4 separate regions of the Homo sapiens genome follow, and regions 2, 3 and 4 are each linked to region 1. Evidence: promoter capture Hi-C in human tissues and cell types (Jung and others, 2019). All regions are on one chromosome and are shown on one strand. The core of a region is centred on a gene start or on the middle of the fragment in contact, and the rest is flanking DNA. Distances in the headings are between cores, read along the strand shown. Region 1 holds the start of SLC28A3 (solute carrier family 28 member 3). Region 2 has its middle 230 kb from the start of AGTPBP1. Region 3 has its middle 260 kb from the start of AGTPBP1. Region 4 overlaps LOC105376121 (a long non-coding RNA gene).

Region 1 (3,131 bases), core at 377-2,876:
ATGTGCTCCCAAGTTGCAATCTCAAACTTAGACCAAATAAACTCTATACTTACATTAAGTTTGTCTCCGTTTTTTCCTTTAGGTTAACAATAATAAAAGTAAATCATTCTCTTTATAGAAAACTCAGCAGCATTTGAAGGAGAAAAAAAAAACACCAACTGCCCATAAAATTAAAAACCGAGAAATAACCACTCATAATACTTGGTATTTTCTTACTTTTTCTTTTTCTTTTTCTTTTCTTTTTTTTTTTTTTTTTGAGACAGGGTCTCACTCTGTCATCCAGATGGGAGGCAGCGGTGCGTTTTCGGCTCACTGCAATCTGTGTCTCCTGGGTTCAAGCGATTCTCCCGCCTCAGCCTCCCGAGTAGCTGGGACTACAGGCGCACGTTATCACTCCTGGCTAATTTTTGTATTTTTAGTAGAGATGGAGTTTCGCCATGTTGGCCAGGCTGGTCTTGAACTCCTGGCCTAAAGTGATCCACCCGCCTTGGGCTCCCAAAGTGCTGGGATTACAGGCGTGAGCCACCGCACCAGGCCTTTTCCATTCTTTTGTCCACAGTTTTGCAGTATTTTAAATTGTACTAGGGGGGAAAATCCCTATTTTAAAAGAATTCTACAGCTAATATTTTCATAAAGCAAAGTGAATTGCTTTATGAAAACAAAGCACTTCTATTCACTTTTGATAATTGAATAGCTGGTCACCTTTCATTTACTTGTCACATATCGGCATTTCTGTAAGCTGGATTTTTGAAAGCAGCCCAGTCTGAAGCAGGGATGTAATAAAAGGTTTTGGAATTAACCAAACTTGAATTTGAATTCTCATTATCCCTTTATTAGCTAAATGACACTAAACAAATTGTTAACTTTTCTGTACTTCAGTATAGAATTTTGAGTTGTTCGGAAGAAGAGCCAAGACCCTTACCTACCTACCTATCTGTCTATGTATCTATCCATCTATCCATCCCTGGTATACAGTAGGTGATCACTGAGGGCGGCATGACCTTATATCCTGTGTTCACTCACCCTCCACCCCACCACCACTCCTAGTCTTTAACACCACCCACAGGAAAACAGAGGATTTCACTAAGCACTATAGAGAACGTGTCCTTTTCTGGCTGGGCACGGTGGCTCATGCCTGTAATCCCAGCAATTTAGGAGGCCAAGGCAGGTGGATCACTTGAGGTCAGGAGTTCAAGAACAGCCTGGCCAACATGGTGAAACCCCGTCTCTACTAAAAATAAAGTCAGCCAGGTGTGGTGGCATGCACCTGTAATCCCAGCTACTTGAGAGGCTGAGGCAGGAGAATTGCTTGAACCTGGGAGGCAGAGGTTGCAGTGAACCGAGATTGCGTCACTGCACTCCAGCCTTTTTTTTTTTGAGACTCCATCTCAAAAAAAAAAAGAAAGAAAGAAAGAAAAAGAAAGTGTCCTTTTCTGTTTTGTGCACCACAAGAGTTTTCTCCCCAGGAGTGCAAATAGGATGCCAAAAATGGGGATAAAGGAAAAGATTAATAAGGTGGGCGGGCCAGCACTAGATGCCTCCACCCCGCCAACCCGCCCGCCTCTCTGCCCCACCCCAACCAGGTGTCAGCCCTAGTCATTCAGGAGATTATTGCAGAAGTTTCCAAACTGAAGCAAGCTGTGCCCAGGTCCCTGTAACAGCAGGTGGCTTTCTGACATCAGCAGAGACTGGTGCTTTTTCCCAGGTACAAAGGACCTCCAGACCAGAGCCAGCCAGCAGCAAAAAGAGCATGGAGCTGAGGAGTACAGCAGCCCCCAGAGCTGAGGGCTACAGCAACGTGGGCTTCCAGGTGAGCAGAGCTTTCCTCTTATGTTAAAGGCCTTCAGTGGAAAAGCTGCCCTTTCCTTAGCCCCTTGGCAAGTTTCTTACCTAAGCAGGGAGATTATCAGGACAATACGATTTTTAACGGCACACTTTAAGCCCATTATTTTTTCTTCTTGGGCTCTTCTGGGTTGACAAACCTGAAAAGTCTCTTTTAATCGATGTGTTGTGATCCCTATGGTCACTTAGAAACAAGACAGCCTTCTTCTCTTGCCTTTTTTCCCTTCTGGCTCACAGCAGGGGTCCATTATTTATCTTCAGGCACTTTTCCAAAGAACTGGTGAGAAGGGAAAAATGGGGGAATTTAGATCCTGGCTGGGGTAGTGTCTCAGGGTTCCTTTTACTCAAGCCAAGTCCTGGAGCCCCTGTCAGATGGCCCCGGTACCTGCCCCAGAGCAGCTGGATTACGCAAATCAGTCTCACTTCATCAACCAAAACTCACTGAGTGATTAATGCTGCTCAGCCCGAGGCTGGGTGCCCGCAGAGACATAGAAGGAGACCTGTCAGAAACACCAGGCTATTTTGACTGGGTCTGGGATGGGGATTTCCAGGGCTGTTTTTAGGTGTGCTTCCTTTCCTTAGCTGACACTCAGCATGGGCGCTCTGGAGAAGATGGGAAGCCTGCACCGGCAAGTGTCAACAATCCCTTGGACTTTACGGTCTGCTAGATGGGCAAAACAAAACTTTGAGGTGCTAGCCAAGAAAGGAAAGAGGGAGGTAAAAGGGCTTTGACAGGAGTTCAGACTCCAGCACCCACAAATTCCTGTAACTTCCCAGAGCCCAAGTTTGATCATCTGTCCCATGGTCACAGTGATGCCCATCTCCATGAGTAGGCATCGGGTTACCACTTATAGGTCACAAGTGTAGGAGAGGAAACAACTTCATCTACCCTCTTAGGTTGAGTGCCTGAGGCCTGCAAATTAAACCAACATAAAACAGATTAGCAGGAGAAAAGGCACGCAAATTTTATTCATATTTAAAATCTCACATGTGGCTGGCAGTGGTGCCTCATGCCTGTAATCCTAGCACTTTGGGAGGCTGAGGCGGGCTGATCATTTGAGGTCAGGAATTTGAGACCAGCCTGGCCAACATAGTGAAACCCCATCTCTACTAAAAATACAAAAATCAGCCGGGCATGGTGGTACATGCCTGTAGTCCCAGCTACTCGGGAGGCCGAGGCAGGAGAATCACTTGAATCTGGGAGGCAGAGGCTGCAGTGAGCCAAGATCGTGCCTCTGTACTCCAGCCTGGTTGACAGAGGGAGACTCAGTCTCAAAAAAATAATAATA
Region 2 (3,131 bases), core at 252-2,751, 1.2 Mb before region 1:
GAAGATGTATGTGGTTCACCTGATTGGCTTACTAAAGCAGGAGACAGTCAAGCCAAAAGAAAACGGTCTTAAAATACAGGCTTGTGAATTGTAGAACTGAAAGAGGCTTTATTCAGGTATATTCTACATATCATATACTTCATCCATTTCAAGTGTATAGTTCAATGATTTTTTTTCTTTTTTTTCTTTTTTTTTTTTTGAGATGGAGTTTCACTCTTGTTGCCCAGGCTGGAGTGCAATGGTGTGATCTCGGCTCACTGCAACCTTTGCCTCCTGGGTTCAAGCGATTCTCCTGCCTCAGCCTCCGAAGTAGCTGGGATTACAGGTGCCTGCCACCACACCCAGCTAATTTTGTATTTTTAGCAGAGACAGGGTTTCACCATGTTGGCCAGGCTGGTCTCGAACTCCTGACCTCAGGTGATCCACTCGCCTCTGCCTCCCAAAGTGTTGGGATTACAGGTGTGAGCCATCTTACCTGGCCTAAATGCCTTTTCTTAAAAAGTGAAATCCAGTTCTGGTTTTTTTGTTTTGTTTTGTTTTTTTGAGACAGAGTCTCGCTCTGTCGTCAGGCTGGAGTGCAGTGGCACTGTATCAGCTCACTGCAACCTCCGCCTGCTGGGTTCAAGCCGTTCTCTTGCCTCAGCCTCCTAAGTAGCTGGGACTACAGGCACATGCCACCATGCCTGGCTAATTTTTTGTATTTTTAGTACAGACAGGGTTTCACCATGTTGGCCAGGCTGGTATTGAACTCCTGACCTCTTGATCTGCCTGCCTCAGGCTCCCAAAGTACTGGGATTACAGGCATGAGCCACGGCGCCTGGCCCGAGCCTTAGTTTTTAAAGAAACTCAACTGAGCCCTGGAGGCAGAGTATGACTAATTGAGGTTGTTTCCGAATGTCAGGTGCTTGATTCCTGGGTGTCTATTCAGTCTGGATCTTTAGTTGGCAAGTGATGAAAACCCAGCTTGGCTAAACCTCAATAAAAGAACCACAATAAAGAAGGGAGTTTATTGGCTTACATAATGAAATGCCCATGGGGTAAGTCTAGCTTCAGGTGTGGCTTGATCCAGAGGCTCAAGGGATATTGTTAGTTCTTGGTTTCTTCCCAACTTGTGTGTTAATTCAAAGGCTCTATATGCTGGTGAGATGGCTGGAACCCCTCTTCTTGGGTTCAAGTTCAGGTTCAAGTTCATTTGCCAAATGTCTCTTTCACATCTGTGTTTATGTGTGTGTTGTGATTGTGTGTTTTGTGCATATGTGTAAGAATATATGTTTGTGTATGAGTTTGTGACTGCGTGTTTGTGTCATATGTATTTATGAGTGGGTGTGTGATTGTGTATGAGTTTGTGACTTAGTATGTTAATGTGTGGGTTTTGTGTTTGTGTGTTGCGTGTGTTTATGCGGTATGAGTGTATGTTTATAACTGTGTGTGTTGTATGCATATGTGTGTGTGTTTGTGTGTGTGTGTGTGGCAGGGAAGGCATCTATGGCATAGAAATGATGCTGGGAAGCTCTGGCTGAGTCTTTGAATGCCATGGTGCTGTAGACTGAATTTCAAGTGACCCGTAGGAATTTTTAAACAGGGTGACCAGGTCATTTACGTAATTCAGAGCTCACCGCTGAGCAGTGTGGGAGGCTGATGGGAGCAGGCAGGGGCTGCAGGGAGGCCCGAGAGGAGAGAGGGTCATGGAGTTTTAGCCTTGGCCTCTCAGCAGGGAGGCAGCTGCAGTCTTGGAAACAGTGACTAGAGGGGGTGGGGCCTTGAGTCCTAAGGCTGGCGTTCAGGTTCCAGCCTGTCCCATACAGCAGGAAGGATGAGCCATACAGCGGGGAGGGCAGCAGAAGCCCTGGAAGGCCATGAGGCTGCTCACCACTCTGGCAAGGCTCTCCTGCCGCCATGACCTGCTGGAAGGATGACTGGGCAGGGCGGCAGTCTGTGGACTGATACTGCTCTGAAGAGTAAGTGGTACTCTTGGCCTGGACCTACTGATTGGTGACTGGGGCCTAACCCTGCCTACTCCAGTGGTTTCTGGAAGTTTCCATAAATGACTTTTAGGATGCCGTGGGAATAATATTTATTTTGCTACTTCCTTATGGAAACCAAATGCACATACATGTATTCATTAGCCACATGTAAGATTGGCTCCATGGCAGACAGATGACTACCCCTTAGAGTCCCAATTCTTGGAGTATGTTGCAAAGAAACCTGATGCCCACGGATGAATTAGTTCAGATAATCAGCGACTTTTTTTCAGATTATTTAAAACTTTCTTTTCTTTGGAAGGATGACTGAGAGTGAATTTGTAGGGAATTATACATGGTTAGTGGGTAGAGCAGTAAGGAGGAGAACTGACATACAAATAAATCAGATTAAAAATTGGTTTCTGATGTCTGGGAGCCTGCCAGCTTTGACTCCCCAATGGCGAATTGACTCCAACTAAAAAGATCCTTTAGATCCTTCTGTCTCAACCCTTTTCTCATATCATATATCCCATAATACAGCCAGACATAAGAGAATCGAGTCCAAATCCCTTATTGTTGCAGATGGGAAAACTGAGACCTATGCAGGTCACATGCCTCTGAAGCTTACACAGTGTTTATGGCAAAGCAAAGGCTTGAACCTGGTGGTTAGCTACTGAGTCCCAGTATTTAAACATTTTTATTTCATTGCCTCCTTATGCAAACCAGGTGCACACAGATATGTTTATGGGGCATATATAAATTTGGCTCTGTAGATGAAGGCTGATTTTGGTTTGAGGTAAGAAAGAAAGCAGGAATATAGGATTGTCCTGCCAATTTTTGTATTTCAAAATAAGTAAATCTAAGTTCAATTTACAAGTATGCCTTCTTATTCTTTATTACCTTGACAATGGAATAGAAAGGGGAAGAAATTTATATGAAGATACATGGGGGTAAATTGAGTGAGATAGGATAAAAGGGAGAAAATAGGTCTATTCCCAAGGGGTTCTGTGAGCGAATGAGACTTCCTTTGCTGCGTGTGTGATCATTGTTCATTTGTTCAAAGCCCTCATTCATCCTATGCTCCAGTCACCATAGTAAGGGCCTCATATGTATCTTTTAACCATGTGAGGTTGGGGTTATTATCCTATTTTAAAAAAAGACAACTGGGCC
Region 3 (3,131 bases), core at 323-2,822, 1.1 Mb before region 1:
TAAAACGTGAGTTGTGCGTGAAACAAATCACACATCTAAAGAGGGCAAGTCACCTTGCAGGTATGAATATTTGCACTTGAATATCCACCAGATGTCAGCAAAGGGTCTTAGTCTAACAAGATAAATATATTAAAGACATTTTCCAATGGATGAAAGTATCTCGAGGAAGGGTGCTTTAAAAAAATTTGCACAAAGGCAGAGGATGTGCTAGCAGAGCTCTGATTTTTGGCCTTCTTCCATTTACTATTTAAAACATCTTCCTCTTATATCCCTCAAAAAAAAAAAAAAGAAAAAAAAAACAGAAAGAAAAGAAATGAAAAAAAGTCAAAGCAAGGAAGAAAGGAAGGAAAGACAACGTTCCTGTGATGTCTATTCTTTATGAGCCGTCATACCCAAAATCTACCTTGGAACAATGGAAGCAAATTCAATGCAACTTTTATTGTACTCAAATGTGTTTGATCTGTTTGAAGAACTTCTTTTGTGGTGCACTCATAATACAACATCATGCTTCACTTTGGGTATTTATATTATGTGTTCTGTAATTATCTATGCTCATATTTGCATTTCCTAGAAGCCTATAAGTCTCTTTTAAATCAATAATTTATATTTTTATTTAAATTATGCAACATATAATTGAAAGTTAAGTGTTGCCATTAGGCTTATAAAGAAAAACATTCGTTAGTGTGAGTAAGGATGACCTTCCAAAGTTTATTCATTCATACATTTAAGCAGTCAACTACCTCATCCCACTCTATTCTCCCGGTTCCACTTCTCCAATGCGCCACTTTGAACTCTTTTACGTGTTTCATATGTGTGTATGTGTGTGTGTGTCTATACATACATATATACACACACACATGGATACATATTTCTAAATGATTTGCTTCAACATCTATTTCTTGATTTGTCAATTTCAGATTTTTCATTGTCTCCCTATTATAAGTGGTTGAGTATATTAGGATAAGTCATGCTAGCTGCTATAGTGAACAACCTTCCCATAATGGCAGCTTATCACAATAAAGTTTTCTTTCTCTCTCAGTGTAGGTCATTGAGGGAGGGTACAAAGTTGTTCTCCACACATTCAGAGACTCAGCCTCTTGCCATCCTTTGATGCCACCATCTTCAACACGTGACCTCCAAGTTTTCTCTGGAACAGGAAGAGCGAACAGAAGATTAAATGTGAGAGATTTTATGGCCAAGGGGTGGCACATCATCACTTCTGTCCACTTTCCCTTGTTCAGAACTCAACCACAAGATGCCAAGCTATTTGCTGAGGATCTGGACATTTAGCTGTGTGTCCAGTGAGGAAGAAAACTGGGTTTGGTGAACACATACCATTGTCTCTGCCATGGTGAGTTCCTGCTCCTTCCTGTATCCTTCCCCTATCCTAAAATCGTAACAGTTTTAGGTTGAACTTGTATTCTACGTTTGCATCTAAGTGATTATTGAACTGTTTTTCACTGCTGAGCCAACTAGTGTACTGAGGTTATGTCCCCTTTCTTGTACATCTATTTTTTGAAAAGTTTACACAGAAACAAAAGTTTTGTGTAAACTTTTGCTTTTACACAACAGTTTAAAATTCTTCCCCAAACACTCAACCATTGCTGTAGAGTGCCTATCAGTAGCACTTCCACACAACGCAGGGCAGCAGGTAACCCATCGGTTCCAACTCCCCCTTCCTAAGGAGCCTCCCATTTGTTTTCTAGCTTGATCTATCCATAGTGCCCCGCTGTTGCCCTAGCCACTCAATTTGTATTAATAATCCAGGAACTTCCCGTTATCCTTCAAGAGTTTCCTGAGAAAGGACACATGGGAGGTAAGTTTTGAGTTATTGTATGCTTGGATTTTCTTATTCTACTTTCATACTTGATAAATATTGGCTTGTTTCAAATATAGGTTGAAGATAATTTTCCCTCAGGATTCTTTAGGCATTGCTCCCTTGTCTAGTTTACTGTTTTTCTATTAAGACGTCTGAGATATGTGACACTCACTACACACTCCCCCAAGCTTTAATAGCATTTAAAATCCTCTCATCCTTGAGAATTTGAAATTATTCTAAGATTGTTTCCCTCAGCATGGATCATGTAAACATCCATTGTTTTTCTGATTATTTGGTGAATCCCTTCCATGTGGAAGTTTTTCCAAGGAAGAAGCCTCCAATCCCTGGAAGGTGGAGGAGTCCACATGCCCGTGGCTGCTGTGGGGAAAGGGATGATGGTGGAGGGAGCAAGCCCACTCACTCCTGCCCCTTTCTCTGCCTATGTCCCTCAGCTTGTGGTCACTCTCATTCATTTTATTTCCAGAGAGAAGCCTCCTGTATTATGCAGCATGGAAGGGCTGCAGGGTGGTGTTGTCACTGGACTGTTGGGAACAGGAGGTGATCGAGTGATTGAACTATTCTGTAAACAGTGAATGCCTCAGAAGTACTTGAAGCACCAACTTCTGAGCCTTTCTGGGGGCTGATGAAGTGAACTGGCTCAGTCCTTTTCACTACAGCATTCTGCAGGCACTTCGACTGCATAGCTCCTCATTCTTCATTCTTTTGTCTACTTTCTACTCCAAAATGTGTTGACATCTCTGTCCTGCCCCATTTTCCCCTTTCTCCCTCATTCCATTCTTTCCTTCCTTCTGATCTCAGTTATTTGTGGAAGGAAGGGAGAAAGGAGGAAAAAGAAAAAAAGACAATTGTTATGTTAGAATATAGATTGATGCGATAGGAAAATAGAGCAAGCAGTCAATATGGACTAGGAGGGCTGTGAAGGTGGAGTTCTAATGTGGGGGTCTGAGAGAGCCTCGTTATGAAGGTGAATCTGAGCAACATTCAGAGGAGACAGAGCAAGCCTTGGGAACATTGGGAGGAAGCGCAGTTGGGACAGAAAGGGCAGCCAGTGCAGAGGCCCTGATGTGAGGGCGGTGCCCATCAAGGCACAGTGAGGAGGCCCACGAGGGGCACAGAGAAGTGAGGCGAGAGAAGTAGGAGATGAGGCGAGCCAGGCAGCCCAGGTGGGATAGGGCCTTGCAGGGCGTTGTAGGGACTTTGTCTTTGACTATGGGAGCAATGGGGGAGGCTTTGGCAGGTTCCTGAGCAGAGGGGGGACAGGATGGGACTTGGGCTTTAGCACAGTCCTGCT
Region 4 (3,131 bases), core at 423-2,922, 1.1 Mb before region 1:
CAGTGCACACCAAAGTTAGGACCCCGAAAAGGCAGGCCGTTTCTAAAAATGCTCCTTTTATCAGCTGCTCCCTTCTAAACCCTTCTAAACTCTTCTAAACCAAATCCAAAACCAACCAGAGGTCTTCGGAGCCACTGGAATATACCCTCCCCGGAGGTCTCTAAGTTCACCGTGAACCAATCTGTGGGGAGAGTAATGCCTCCATCTCTGCCAGCCAGCGTTCCGGGACCCTCAAGGACTACTTTGAATTTCAGAAGTGGAACTTCAGAAAAGCAGTGTTGAAAGAATCATTGGTGTTAATTAAAAGATGTAAATAATCTCTTTTAAAGAAATAGACTTGGCTGGGCGCGGTGGCTCACGCCTGTAATCCCAACACTTTGGGAGGCCGAGGCGGGTGGATCACGAGGTCAGGAGATGGAGACCATCCTGGCTAACACGGTGAAACCCCGTCTCTACTAAAAATACAAAAAAATTAGCTGGGCGTGGTGGTAAGTGCCTGTAGTCCCAGCTACTCGGGAGGCTGAGGCAGGAGAATGGCGTGAACCCAGAAGGCGGAGCTTGCAGTGAGCCGAGATCGCGCCACTGCACTCCAGCCTGGGTGACAGAGCGAGACACTGTGTCAAAAAAGCAAGCAAACAAACAAACAAAAAACTTTGTGCTGGTTTCCTAGCACTGCTGTAATAAATGCCGGCAAACTGGGTGGCCTAGAACAACAGATATTCGTTCTGTTGCAGTTGTGGAGGCCGAAAGTTGGAAATCAAGGTGTCGGTGGGACCATGCTCTCTTGAAGGCACTGGGAAAGAGTCTGCCTCATGCTTTTCTCTTAGCTTCTGGGGTTGCCCGCAATCTTGGCCTTCCTTGGTTCATGGCCGCATTTCTCTAATCTCTGCCTCCGTTGACACATGGCGTTCTTCTCCTGGGTGTCATTTTCTTCTTCTCTTTTTGTAACACAGCCATAATGACCCTAATGGCTCACCCTAATGACTCATCTTAGCGCCATTACATCTGCAAAGACCTTATTTCCAAATAAGGTGGGTGGCATATATTCTTGGGGGACAACATTGAAGCCATAACAGTCCTATCATTTCCTACAAGTGATCTATCATCCTTTTAAGTCTCCAAACCCACTGAGTAGCAAGGAAAAAATAAATTTAGTCCAGTCCAATAAACTCAGCCCAATCCAATAATTTAAATAGTCTATTCATTCTCTACAGGCATGACTAAGATACATGCTCAGTCTTTCTTATTTCCTCCCCCTTTTCTTTATATCTCCACAAAATGAGAGCTAGAGGTTTAGAGGGCTGGGTTTCTATGACTTCATGATTGTAGAGGAAGGGGCTGACTCACTCTGTCCTTGGATCCTGGCTGGTCTCTGCTGCAGGATGACAGCCCCAGTTTGTTCTGGAAATCATTTCCACTGAAGAAAGACTGGTCCCATTTAACATTTTGGGATTATATGCTAGTGTCTTCCTCTGGAGTCCCCCGGGATCTTGGCCATCAGTCCCTGAAATTTAGAAATCATTTTTTCATCCCAAAGACTGGCGTTCAGGTGATTATTTTATTAAAGGAACCAGGAAAACGGCTTTGAGGTGCAACATTGGTCAATGACCTCTTTGTTTCTGGTAGCAGTCAACCTTCCCTCCTGGAGGAAATGACCCTCATTGTATAGTTTTCTCTTTGCATGAAAACAAGATACAAGGGCAAATAAAAACCATGTGGTCTATGAGTTAGCTTCTGCTGTGTAACAAAGTATCTCAGAGCTCAATGGCTTAAGCAGAGAGTGGCAAACTGTGGCCTGCAGTATGTTTCTGTAGGACCCACAAGCTGAGAATGGTTTTACATGTTTAAAGCGTTTGGAAAACAAAATAAGATATGCAACAGAGACCATACCAAATATTTAGTAAGTCTAAAATATTTACTATTTGGCCCTTGATAGAAAAAGTTTGATTACCCTGGCTTAAAACAAAAAGCGTTTCTTATTGCGCCCAAGTCTCTGGGTTCTTCAGCTCCTGGATGGTCTCCTTCATGCATCTGAGGCTAGCTGTGGGTCAGGCAGGCAGCTTGGCTGATCTTGGCTGACTTTTCTCACATGTTTAGAGGTTGTTGGCTGTAGGTTGATCTAGGATGGCCTTGGCTGAGGCAAATGAGCTCTTGTCTCTGAGCTCTCTCCTCTTTCCCCAGGCTAGCCCAGCCTTGTTAACACAGTGGAGGTAGCATTCCAAAAAAGAGCAGAAATGAGCAAGATCTCTGAGGTCAGACTTGGATTTGACACACCTTCATTCTGCCACATTGTATTGGCCAGAGATCCCAGCCCAGATCTCAGGGTGGGGAAATAGACTCCATCTCTTGATAGGAGGAGCAGCAAAGTCACATGATAAAGAATGTGGGTGTGGGGAGTGGTGAAGAATTGAGGTCATTTTTAGTATCAGTCTGCCTCATATGGGTAATTTTCTAAACATTACCCCAGTAGCAAAAAAGAGAATTTTATTTATTAATATTTCCTCCAAATATTCCTTATGATCTTAAAATCCACATGTGTAGAAGCAATTTTGATGTGATTTAGAGCACATTAGGAACTTTTGTGCCTTATTAATAGAACTCTTAGGTTCTAAAACCCTAGGGTTAAGATTTTAAAAATTTTACACTAGGGCTGTTTTCTTTTTCTTTCTGTAACATTTTCTCTTCCCATTTCCAGATTTCCCCACCTGAAGACATGTTAGTTTTATTTTGTCAGTTTTTAAATTAACAATAGCTACTGTATTTTCCTGTCCCTTCAGTTCATAACTTCTGAAATCTGAGGTGGTTTAGGGAGTCCTTGAGAGGTGACCCCCAATACCCACCTACCACCTCCCCCATGAAGTTGCTGTTAGCATCTCTTCTCAGGAAATTTGTTTTTTTAACTTCCACATTGGTGCCCAGGAGAACCATCTCAAATTTTATCCCAGCCAACTTCAAGATGAGTTTGCCACCAAACTTCCCTTCACCCAGTCTCCAAACCCTGTGATTCATCTTTCCCTTTGTTGGGAGCCCCATGACTTTTGCTTGATGCTGTTTTAAGAGAGGGAAATGAAGACAAACCACAAAGATCCAAATCATTGACTCTTGGAGACTGAAGGAATGTCCAGCGTTTC

What was found. Contacts are between HindIII fragments. The study calls those that stand out against the background at their distance.
Region 2: a fragment that was not itself captured here is called in contact with the fragment with the promoter of SLC28A3 in region 1 in 1 of the 25 tissues and cell types used here (dorsolateral prefrontal cortex).
Region 3: a contact is called between a fragment that was not itself captured here and the fragment with the promoter of SLC28A3 in region 1, in 1 of the 25 tissues and cell types used here (dorsolateral prefrontal cortex).
Region 4: a fragment that was not itself captured here is called in contact with the fragment with the promoter of SLC28A3 in region 1 in 1 of the 25 tissues and cell types used here (lymphoblastoid cells).

The regions. Positions count from the first base shown.
Region 1 is chr9:84,339,253-84,342,383 of GRCh38, reverse strand. SLC28A3 (solute carrier family 28 member 3) reads left to right here and starts at 1,626. Exons shown (of 18, transcript NM_001199633.2): 1 at 1,626-1,810. The coding sequence starts at 1,751. The HindIII fragment of the contact is 14,043 bases long and covers 1-3,131 here.
Region 2 is chr9:85,513,070-85,516,200 of GRCh38, reverse strand. No RefSeq gene overlaps it. Among named protein-coding and RNA genes, the nearest start is that of AGTPBP1, 230 kb to the left of the region's middle. The HindIII fragment of the contact is 3,134 bases long and covers 1-3,068 here.
Region 3 is chr9:85,480,369-85,483,499 of GRCh38, reverse strand. No RefSeq gene overlaps it. Among named protein-coding and RNA genes, the nearest start is that of AGTPBP1, 260 kb to the left of the region's middle. The HindIII fragment of the contact is 7,526 bases long and covers 1-3,131 here.
Region 4 is chr9:85,421,808-85,424,938 of GRCh38, reverse strand. The region is part of intron 2 of LOC105376121 (a long non-coding RNA gene); the gene reads left to right. Among named protein-coding and RNA genes, the nearest start is that of AGTPBP1, 320 kb to the left of the region's middle. The HindIII fragment of the contact is 6,241 bases long and covers 1-3,131 here.